Regions from separate parts of the Homo sapiens genome. Here region 2 is linked to region 1. The links are contacts of gene promoters, found by promoter capture Hi-C in human tissues and cell types (Jung and others, 2019). All regions are on one chromosome and are shown on one strand. Each heading gives the region's core, a stretch centred on a gene start or on the middle of the fragment in contact. The rest is flanking DNA. Distances are from core to core; before and after follow the strand shown.

What was found. Contacts are between HindIII fragments. The study calls those that stand out against the background at their distance.
Region 2: a contact is called between a fragment that was not itself captured here and the fragment with the promoter of TMEM121 in region 1, in 2 of the 25 tissues and cell types used here (lymphoblastoid cells and spleen).

The regions. Positions count from the first base shown.
Region 1 is chr14:105,523,403-105,529,064 of GRCh38, reverse strand. TMEM121 (transmembrane protein 121) reads right to left here and starts at 2,482. Exons shown (of 2, transcript NM_025268.4): 1 at 2,412-2,482; 2 at 1-343. The coding sequence starts at 230. RefSeq lists a silencer at 615-824. The HindIII fragment of the contact is 20,488 bases long and covers 1-5,662 here.
Region 2 is chr14:105,646,383-105,652,044 of GRCh38, reverse strand. It overlaps IGH. Among named protein-coding and RNA genes, the nearest start is that of MIR8071-2, 9.0 kb to the right of the region's middle. The HindIII fragment of the contact is 3,601 bases long and covers 1,561-5,161 here.

The sequences.
Region 1 (5,662 bases), core at 1,233-3,732:
ATCATGGCGTAGCCGCGCTTGGCCGTGCGCACCTCGGCGCCCACCCACACGGCCACGTAGCGCAGCACCAGCAGGAAGCACACGTCGCCCACCAGCACGATGATGCACACGCCGATCTTGCGCGGGCCCTGGTTCTGCTCCACCAGGTACGCGTCCATGACGGCCATGCTGCCCATGATCACCAGCGTGGTCAGGCACACGTGGCGCCGGTCCGGGGGCGGCAGCACCATGGTCGGCCGCCGGGCCCCGGCCTGGGCGCGCGCGGCCCCCACGCCTGGCGGGACGAGGCCCTGCGGCGCTCAGCCAGCGGGCATGGCGCGACACGGCCCGGCGAGCTCGAAACCTGGGGAGACCGGAGGAGACAAGATCAGGGTGCGGGCTGGAGCGGCCTCCCCCAACACCCCCCGCCCCCCGCACCCCGCGTGCTTCCCACCAGGCGCGGTCTCCGCGCCGGGGCCCCGAGGCATCGCGCACGCCTGCGCCCATGCGCGAACCGGCGGCCGCGAACCACAGCGAGGCCTCCAGAGGGCGCTGCTGCCTCGCCAGAGCACCCGGGCCTCGTTCCCGCCGCCAGGAAGGAAACGGAACGGACGCGTTTTCTGCCCGCCGAGCTCGTTCCCGGAGCCCGGGGGGGTTTGTCACTGCTGGGCCCGCGCCGCCCTCCCTCCTGGCTCCGGCGGCCCGGACCCCACGCCCGCGCTGCTGGCCTCAGGCCGTTTCCGCGGAGTTCCGGGAATACCCTCTCCCCGCCGCCGCACTGGGCAGGGAGGCGGGCCTGCCCCTCCGCTCTTGGAGTACCCAAGGAGGCCTCGGCCCTCCCAGGCTTTCTGATCCCGGACCGAGAGCCACCCAGGTCCCGATGCATCCGTCCCACAAGCCTCTCCGAGCCTCCCCGCCCCTGCCCGGCAGCCCCCACGCCCCTCCTCCCTGCACGGGCAGGCTCGGTCTCCCCTCCTGTCCACCATCCTGGGCGCGTGGCCACTGCCTGCCCTGCTCCCCATGGCTCCGCATTGCCTTGGCGAGGTGTTGTCCCCCACCCTCTGCCCCGGCAGAGCCACCCTGCTTTGCTCCTCTGCGCCAGGGCGATGCCTGTGGCTGCCCTCGAATCTCGGGAAGCCCGTCCACCAAGGCCCGTCGGGCTTCCACAGGCCCCTGCACCTCTGTCACACACCTGGCACTGGTCCTCATGGCCGTGCTGTCGGAGTCCCCGCACCTGGGCCTGTGCACACCTGGGTGACAATGGAGGCCCGCACACCCGCACCCACCCCAAAGTCACTGACAGGCTTACTCCCAGCCAGCCCCTCACCCCCTCCACAGCCCCAGGCCTGGGGCTCCGTTTACTGCCGTGTCTAGACAAAGGCATAAAATTTAATGTCCCCGTGACAGTCGGGCGCTCGGACTGCCCTGGTGACACCGCAGGCCCCACCGATCCGGGAAAGCGTTGAACTCTGCACTCCCACCCCTGCCCCCACCCAGCACCCGCCGCCCAGGATCCCCACAGCCACACACAGGACACCCCCACCCCTCGGAGCTCTGACAGGTCGCGAGGAGGGTGCCTTGAGGGTCCTCAGCCCATGCCCCTGCCTCCAAGCCTCCCCGCGCTCTGGGTCCCACCGGGACACTCACCCGGTTTTCACGTCCACTGGATCTACACGTCTGACCCAGGAAGCCCTCTCTGGGCCCATTCCAGGCCCACCTGGGCCTCCCCTAGCTGCAGCCGCAGCCTGAGAATTTCCTCCCTCTCCGCGCGTGGCGGGGCCAAATAAATAGCGGGGGAGCCACGGCGCCGCTCACCCTTTCCGGCCGTGCCTCCAGCCCCTCCGCCCCACTACGCTGTCGCTCGATCCTCAGTCACTTGGCAGATGCGGGCCGAGGGGCTCTGCGCTGGCGAAGGGACGGACTCCAGCCCCTAGCGGAGCCCCTACCCCGGCAAGCCAGAGCCCGGCCCGGCCACCTCTCCGTAGGGACCTGGCCCCAGGCCCACCTGTCCTGGGTCTCCTGGGCCCCGGCCGAGGCCCCTCCTCCCCCCACGCCCCGCGGCTCAGACCTGGCACAGACTCTGGGGCCTCCAGGCCCTTCACTGCCCGGGCCCCGCAAGGACCCTCGCCCCATAACCACCCCTCGGAGCCCCCGGGAGGAGGGGCGGGAGGGGGCTGCTGTGCTCCCGCCGCGGGCCGGTGCAGAGCTTGGGCCGCTCCCAGCAGGCTGCGTCTCTGCTTGTCCCCCCGAGGCTTCCCCACGCAGGGCCGGGTCCCCGTCACCCCGCCGGCCCCAGGCCTCACCCCTGCCGCATCGGCCCCCGCCCCACCCCACAGTCCCCACGGCCCAGAGGTGCAGGGTCGCCCAGGCCCGCCGCCCCCTCCGCGGACGCAGCCGCGCACCCAGCCAGTCCCGCCCGCGCCCGCGCCTACCCCGCCGCCCGCAGATGCTGCGCCGCTCCCGGGCCCGCCCGCCCAGCCTCTGCCGCCACTGCCGGGGCCGCGCCGGCTCCTCCCGCCGCGCCCCTCCCCCGCCCGCGCGGCACCGCCCCCGACCCAGAGGCCCCGCCCCGCGCCCCTCGGCCCGCGAGCCCCGCCGGACCTGGGGACCTGGGAGCGCGGGGGTGCCGGTGCCCCGCCCCCTCCGCAGCGCCGGTTGCCACGGCGACAGCACCGCGCGGCGGCGCGCAGGACTGGTGGCTCTGGGGAGCGGGGCGCCCTCGCGCACCCCCAGGCGCGGAGTCCCGTCTCCACCCTCCTCACCCACCGCCCAGAATCCCAGGGTCCCGCCCAGTGCCCCCCGCGCCCTGAAACTCCGCTGCCGCCCCCTAGAGCGACCCCACTCAGCCGGACAGGCGCCCACCGGCCCAGGAGCTGACAGGGATGTAGGCGCGGGGCTGGCCTGGCCGCCGGGGCCCTCCGCGCCACCCTCTGTCCTCTTTGGGGAGAAACCCAGCCTTCCCAGGTTTCTTCTCAGGGCAGAGGAAAGGAATGATGAGCGGCCCCCACCTTCTTCTCCAGCCCGTCCAGGAGGCAAGCTAGGGTTTGGGGACTTGGGCTTCATTTTGTCACTGAGGTGGCACTAAGCCCCTCCCCCCACATCCTGTCCATCCCGTGTGAGCCAGAGAAGAACCCGAGGGCACCTTCTGCCTGCCTGCCCTCCTTCCCAGAACTGCTGTGACTTCCCTCTGACATAGGAGGAGACTGAGGGTCAGAGAGGTAAAGGGACACCAGATTTGGTGGAAAGACCAGAATTTGAGGCACCACCCAACTGGTAGTGAACTTCCAGATTCTCTTCCCGTATCCCCGGGCCTGGACTCAACACGGCCTGAAAGCCAGAAGAGGACAGAGAGCTCCAGAAGTTCTCTAGTCCTGGCACAAGGGGAGGAAAGAAAAAGGTCGCCTAATGCTCCCAGGGTGCAGGAGAATGCCCGGGGGGATGTTAGGGTTTGGGAGGATGGGGTTTTTTGGTAGTGGTTGTTTTTTTACTCTTCTCCATTCTCTGATGCCCCAGCCCCTAGGTATCCCACCAAAGCCATGACCAAGGCATAGGGTTTACAAGCACCTAAAACGCTGAGGCAGAAGAGCCTTCCTTTCCAGCCCCAGGAGATGTGGTCCCCTGTCGCTGGAGAGATGGTGGGCAGGGAGAAGCAGTAGAAAGCAATCCATGGGCTGGGCGTGGTGGCTCACACCTGTAATTCCAGCACTTTGGGAGGCCGATGTGGGCGGATTACCTGAGGTCGGGAGTTCGAGACCAGCCTGGCCAACATGGTGAAACCCCCATCTCTACTAAAAATATAAAAATTAGCCGGGCGTGGTGGCACACACCTGTAATCCCAGCTACTCGGGAGGCTGAAGCAGGAGAATTGCTTGAGTCCGGGAGATGGAGGTTGCAGTGAGCCGAGATCTTGCCACTGCACTCCAGCCTGGGCAACAGAGTGAGACTCTGTCTCAAAAAAAAAAAAAAAAAAAAAGCAACCCCAGGAAGTTGTGCAAGCCATACATGATGTACAAGTCTAAACCCTCATTCACATCCCAAAGGCTGAGAACTGAACAAAAGGACAGCCCACTGCCCACGTCCCACACTGGCCACTGGGCAGTGCATACGAAGGACAGATCTGAGTCCCACTGCAAAGGCTTTGAAAACAAAACCGACATGGAAGGCAGGACCCACAGGAGCCTATTTGAACTTGTGGCCTGAAACCAACTAGGTTGATTGCATGATAAAACAAAATGCCAACATTCTCAATGGGATTTAAATAAGACCAGTCTCATAACATAATGTCTAAATGTGCAGGAGACAATCTAAAATTACTCTGCATGTGAAGAATCAGGAAATCCAACCTGCAAGAGAAAAGACAATCAACAGCCGCCAATGCCAACATGACACAAAAACCCTCAACTAATTATCAGCAAATAGAATCAAGCAGCATTAAAAACACACACACACAAATACCCCAACCAAATGGAGGCTATCCCAGAAAGGCAAGGCTGGTTCAACATGTGAAAATAAATCGATGTGATCCACCATATTAGTCTCAAGAAGAAAACCATGTGATCATCTCAATCAATTCAAAGAAAGTATTTGACGGAATTCAACACTCATCCCTGATAAACACTCTCAGCAAACTAGAAAGCAAAGGGAACATGCTTAATCTCATAAAAGGAATCTACAAAAAGCAACAACAAAAACAACAGGCCAGGCATGGTGGCTCACCCCTGCAATCTCAACATTTTGGGAGGCCAGGAGTTCAAGACCAGCCCGGGCAACATGGAGAGATTCCATATCTGTTATTTTTAATTAAAAAAAAAATTAGGCCAGGCACTGTGGCTCATGCCTCTAATACCAGCATTTTGGGAGGCCAAAGTGGGCGGATTGCTTGAGCTTGAGTTCAAGACCAGCCTGGGAAACATGGTGAAACCCTGTCTCTACAAAAAATACAAAACAATCTGGCCGGATGTGGTGGCTCACGCCTGTAATCCCAGCACTTTGGGAGGCCAAGGCAGGCAGATCACCTGAGCTCAGGAGTTCTATGCCAGCCTGGGCAACATGGCGAAACACCATCTCTACTTAAAACACACACACACACACACACACATTAGCAGGGTACAGTGACACACACCTGTAATCCCAGCTACTCAGGAGGCTGAGGCATGAGAATCGCTTGAACTTGGGAGGCAGAGGTTGCAGTGAACTAAGATCGCACCACTGCACTCCAGTGTGGGCAACAGAGGAAGACCCTGTCCAAAAAAGAAAAAAAAAAAAAAAAAAAACCTCTGCATCTAATGTGATACTTAATAATGAAGGACTAAATGCTGAGCCCTAAGATCAGGAACAAGGTAAAGATGTCCACTCTATTCACTCCTGTTCCACAGTGTACTGGCAGTCCTAACCCATGCAATAAAACCAGAAAAATAAAAGGCATACAGATTAGAAAGGAAGAAATAAAGATGTCCCTATCCATAAATAACATAAAAGTCTATGTCGAAAATCCCAAGAATTTTACCAACAAAAAAGTCAGAATACTAATAAGTGAGTTTTGCAAGGTTGCAGGATGAAAACACAGAACTCAGTCCTGTTTCTATATATTAGCAATGAACAATTGAAAACCAAAATTTTTAAAAGCAATGCTATTTAAAATGGTCCCCCAGTAAATTTATTCGTTTGGTATTAATCTAACAAG
Region 2 (5,662 bases), core at 2,112-4,611, 120 kb before region 1:
AGGAGGCTCGCCACCCCGCTGTGGTTTCTCTCCTAATCTCACCCTGGGTTTCTCTCACACTTGATGCAGATGATGTTTCTCTGACATTGTGGACTAAGAGTTGGTGCTGGAAGGGGTTAGCCATCTTGGAGATGTTGCTATGGGATGCAGGGATTTTGCGTGTGAGAAGGACATGATTATGGGGGGAACGGAGGGCAAACTGTCATGGGTTAAAATGTGTCCCCTATAAATTCATGTGTTGAAGTCCTAACCCCCAGGACCGCAGAATGTGACCTTGTCTGGAAACAGTCTTTGCAGCTGCAATCAAGTTCAGATGAGGTCACCCTGGAGTAGGGCAAGCCTCTGATCCAATATGACTGCTGTCCTCATGAAAAGGGGGAATCTGGGCACAGACAGCACGTGGGGAGAACGCCCTGTGAAGATGGTGCTGCTTCCATAAGCCAAGAGCACCAGAGACGGCCGGCAAAGCCCAGCAGCAAGGAGAGAGCCTGGGACAGAGTCTCCCATGACACAGAGGAGCCAGCCCCACCGAGGCCTCCATCCCAGATGCCCGGCCTCCAGAACCAGGACGGAATAAACGTCTGTTGTTTAAGCCACGCAGTCTGGGGTGCAGTGTTGCCAGGGCCACAGTTAACGGATACGAGTGTTGTCCTGAGCTGCCAGCCCCACAGGCTGCACGAGGCCTCCCTGCCCCAGCCCAGTGCAGACTCCCCAGCCCCCTGGGTGTGCCATGGGCAGTGGGGGGCCCCTCACTCCGTCCTCCCCCAGCCTGGGAGGTTGAGCCCATTATGAGCTCCATGGGGTGAAGCTGGAACGAGAGGCTGGGAGCCGACTGGGAGCCTGCGGCTGGAGGATGGATTTCCCCAGGGACCCACACGTGCACCTCCACCTGTCTCCTGGACATTCTCTCTGAGGGCAGGGCTGGTGCCAGCTCAGGGATCCAGCAGGGTCACAAGGGCAGGCCGGGTCCTTGTGGAGAGCACATTTAGTGGGAGGGACATGATTTCCCTTCAAAGTGCCCATTCTGGACGCTTCCCGTTCCATGCTGGACGCTTCCTCTTCCACGCTGGATGCTTCCTGTTCCACGCTGGATGCTTCCTGTTCCACGCTGGATGTTTCCTGTTACACTCTGGATGCTTCCTGTTCCACACTGGATGCTTCCTGTTCCATCCTGGATGCTTCCTGTTCCATGCTGGACATTTCCTGTTCCACTCTGGATGCTCCCTGTTCCATGCTGGATGCTTCCTGTTCCATGCTGGATGCTTCCTGTTCCATGCTGGACATTTCCTGTTCCACTCTGCATGCTTCCTGTTCCACTCTGGATGCTTCCTGTTCCACACTGGACGCTTCCTGCTCCACGCTGGACGCTTCCTGTTCCATGCTGGATGCTTCCCGTTACATTCTGGATGCTTCCCGTTCCATGCTGGACGCTTCCTGTTCCACGCTGGACGTTTCTTGTTCCACTCTGGATGCTTCCTGTTCCACGCTGGATGCTTCCTTTTCCACGCTGGACACTTCCTGTTCCGCGCTGGACACTTCCTGCTCCACACTGGACGCTTCCTGCTCCAGGCTGGACGCTTCCTGTTCCATGCTGGATGCTTCCTGTTACATTCTGGATGCTTCCCGTTCCATGCTGGACGCTTCCTGTTCCACGCTGGACGTTTCTTGTTCCACTCTGGATGCTTCCTGTTCCACGCTGGACGCTTCCCATTCCACTCTGGATGCTTCCTGTTCCATGCTGGACATTTCTTGTTCCACTCTGGATGCTTCCTGTTCCATGCTGGATGCTTCCTGTTCCATGCTGGATGCTTCCTGTTCCATGCTGGACGTTTCTTGTTCCACTCTGGATGCTTCCTGTTACATGCTGGATGCTTCCTGTTCCATGCTGGACGTTTCTTGTTCCACTCTGGATGCTTCCTGTTCCATGCTGGATGCTTCCTGTTACATTCTGGATGCTTCCTGTTCCATGCTGGACATTTCCTGTTCCACTCTGGATGCTTCCTGTTACATTCTTGATGCTTCCTGTTCCATGCTGGACATTTCCTGTTCCACTCTGGATGCTTCCTGTTACATTCTGGATGCTTCCTGTTCCATGCTGGACATTTCCTGTTCCACTCTGGATGCTTCCTGTTACATTCTGGATGCTTCCTGTTCCATGCTGGACATTTCCTGTTCCACTCTGGATGCTTCCTGTTACATTCTTGATGCTTCCTGTTCCATGCTGGACATTTCCTGTTCCACTCTGGATGCTTCCTGTTACATTCTGGATGCTTCCTGTTCCACTCTGGACGCTTCCCATTCCACTCTGGATGCTTCCTTTTCCATGCTGGACCTTTCTTGTTCCACTCTGGATGCTTCCTGTTCCATGCTGGATGCTTCCTTTTCCATTCCGGACACTTCCTATTCCATTCTGGACACTTCCTGTGCGACACCTCCTCGGGCTTTTGGTCTGCCCAGTCCCTCTGGCCTCATACCATCCCCCCTTACCTCCCACTTCCACGTTCGTCCTTCCTCAGCTCCTCCCTCTCTCTAGAGCTTCGGCCTGGCAAGGTCCCTCCTGATCTCAGTCCAGGCTCCCCCAGCACAGGTAGGAGACTTGCACCTGCCCTTGGACCTCCCCACCCTGCATGATGCCAGCATCCCCCAGGCCCCAGGGAGGCCCCATTTCTCTCTCTGCTTGTAGTCCAGTGGCCCTGGAGTGCCACTGCAACTCGGGTGTGCCCCTCGCCTCTGAGGAAGCTAAGTGCCCTAAGCTAAGCAGAGGCCATCCCCTCTGCTCAGCCCCAGGGCCCTGCCCCCTACCCCTTCCCCTCACCTGCACCACAGGCTCTGGCCAACTCTGCCCAGGCTCTGAATGGGCCCCTCTGGCTCCCCTCTGCTGCTACACTGCCCTGCACCACCTCCACTCAGCTTCAGTGTGTTCATCCACCTGTCCCACGTCCCCTCGGCCCCCAGGAGCACAGCTGGTGGCCCTGGCTCCTGGCAGCCCATCTTGTTCCTTCTGGAGCACCAGCCTCAGAAGCCTTCCTGTGCAGGGTCCACTCGGCCAGCCCTGGGACCCTCCTGGTCTCAAGCACACACATTCTCCCTGCAGCCAGACCTGCCCCTGCCTGTGAGCTCAGACCTGAGCCTTGGAACGCCTTCCCTTCTCCATCCCAGCTCGCCTTTGCCAGCTGCTCAGCGGGATGAACTCACACTCCCCTCCCTGCACCATGAGTGAGAGCCAGCTGGAGAGACGCCCAGGCCAAAGCAGCCACCAGGGCCCAGTGGGGGTCAGAAGCTTCAGGTGAGAGGCCCAGGTATTGAGAGGCTGAGACCACGGGCAGAATGGTCATAATCACTGCCAGTATCAGTCCAGCCCCAGGGACTCAGAGACAGAGAAAAGAGCAGTGAACAAGGTCCGGGCTCCCCACCTTCTCCCACGAGTATGGGGGCAGCCACCACCCCCATCCCCACACACCCATGAGGCAGCCTCGGCTGTGTCTGGACTCCCCCTTACCCTGTGACACAGAAACCACCAGAAGAAAAGGGAACTTCAGGAAGTAAGCGGTGCCGCCGGTTTCAATCCTGTTCTTAGTCTTTGCAGCGTGGAGTTCACACCCCTGGGGACCTGAGGGCCGAGCTGTGATTTCCTAGGAAGACAAATAGCAGCTGACGGCGTGGGCAAGTCTGCCCACATGTACCGCGCCAAAACAGGAAGGGCTGAGACCCCCACCTCGGTGAGTAGGGTCAGCACAGGGCAAGGGCACAGGCTCGGGAGGAGAAGGACAGAGCCTGGGTGCAGCCGTGGGCGCTCCTGGACCTCAGCTGCTGAACAGGCTACAAGAGGCTGGGGAGACGTGGGGGCAAGGCCAGCCCCACATGGAGACCCAAGCGGAGCCAGCACGGGGGAGGTGGGCAGCCTTCAGGCACCAACGCCCACCCAGTGCAAGATGACGGGGACCGTGGGCAGGGGCTTCCAAGCCAACAGGGCAGGACACACCAGAGGCTGACTGAGGCCTCCATGACGACCAGGCTGGGAGCACGAGGAACCTGACGGGATGCGGCAGAGCCGGCCGTGGGGTGATGCCAGCATGGGCAGGACCCACCTGAGCTGAGGAGGCAGTAGAACGAGGGAGGAGGAGAGGCCCCAGGTGAACGGAGGGGCTTGTCCAGGCCAGCAGCATCACTGGAGCCCAGGGCAGGGTCAGCAGTGCTGGCCGTGGGGCCCTCTCTCAGCCAGGACCAAGGACAGCAGGTGAGCCGGGAGCAGAGCAGGGAGGGTGAGTGTGGCAGCAGGACAGGAGGGTGGAAGCCAAGGAGCCCAGAGGCAGAGGCAGGGACAGGGGAGGCACAGGGGCTAGGCTCAGAGCCACCTGATGGCGCTGGGGCACCTGCTGGCGGGGAGCAGGGCTGTGGTCAGCAGCGGAGTGGAGGGGAGAGCTGTGCTGAGTGCACAGATGGGAGGAGGGAAGAGTCCAGGGAGGCCCAGAAAGGCCCAGAGTGCAGCAGGCCTGGGGCGAGGGGAGGGGTGAGGCTCCGTGCGTTCAGGGAGCTGACCCAGCAGAGCAGAGGCCACTGAGGAGCTGAGGTTCTGGAGAGGCTTCCAGAGCAGGAGCAGTGCAGGGACGGGAGGATCTGGGAGCTCACCCAGGAGGGGCACATGGGCAAGGGCAAGGGGCTCTGTTGGGGAGACCTGACTGGACACTGGGGCTGCTCCACAGCATAGGGAACAAGCCAAGTGCTGCAAAAACAAAAATGAGGCCAGAAAAACAGCCCAAACCTGGACAGAGGGTGCCAGGACAGGCAGGGGGGCAACAGTGACCTGAGTGACATTGCTGCCCGGGTTGAGGGAGGGCAGAGTGAGCAGGGGGCAGGCATTGGAGTTCAGGGTACCAGGACCGAGCAGCCACAGGTGAGCAGGGCAGGTGGGGGCAGAAGGAGCAGGGGGCACCTCCTGGAGCTCAGCAGACCAGGGCAGAGCAACTGAAGGTGAACAAGGGCAGGTGGGAGGCAGGATGAGCAGGGGGAAGACCCTGGAGCTCAGGGGACCAGGGCAGAGCAGCCTCAGGTGCCTCAGGTGAGCAGGGGCTGGTGGGTGGCAGGACGAGTAGGGGACAGCTCCTGGAGCTCAGGGGACCAGGACAGAGCATCAAGAGCTGAGCATGGCTAGTGGGAGGTGGGCGAACAGGGTGCAGCCCCTGGAACTCGGGACCAGGGCAGAGCAGCGGCAGGTGAGCACGGGCTGGTGGGAGGCAGGAGGAACAGGGGGCAGCTCTGGGACTTCAGGGGACCAGGGGAGGGCATCTGAAGGTGAACAGGGGCTGGTGGGGGCAGGAAGAGCAGGGGGAAGCCCCTGGAGCTCAGGGGACCAGGGCAGAGCAGCCACAGGTGAGCAGGGGCTGGTAGGAAGCAGGAGGAGCAGGGGACAGCCCCTGGAGCTCAGAGCACCAGGGCAGAGCACCCTCAGGTAAGCAGGGGCAGGTAGGAGGCAGGACGAGCAGGGGACAGCCCCTGGAGCTCAGGGGACAGAGGAGAGCATCAGAAGGTGAGCAGGACTGAGGCTTAGCCTCAGGGAATCAGAGCAGAGCAGCCACAGGTGAGCAGGGCCGGTGGGAGGCAGGACGAGCAGGGGACAGGCACTAGAGCTCAGGGCAAGGCAACCACAGGTGAGCAGGGCCGG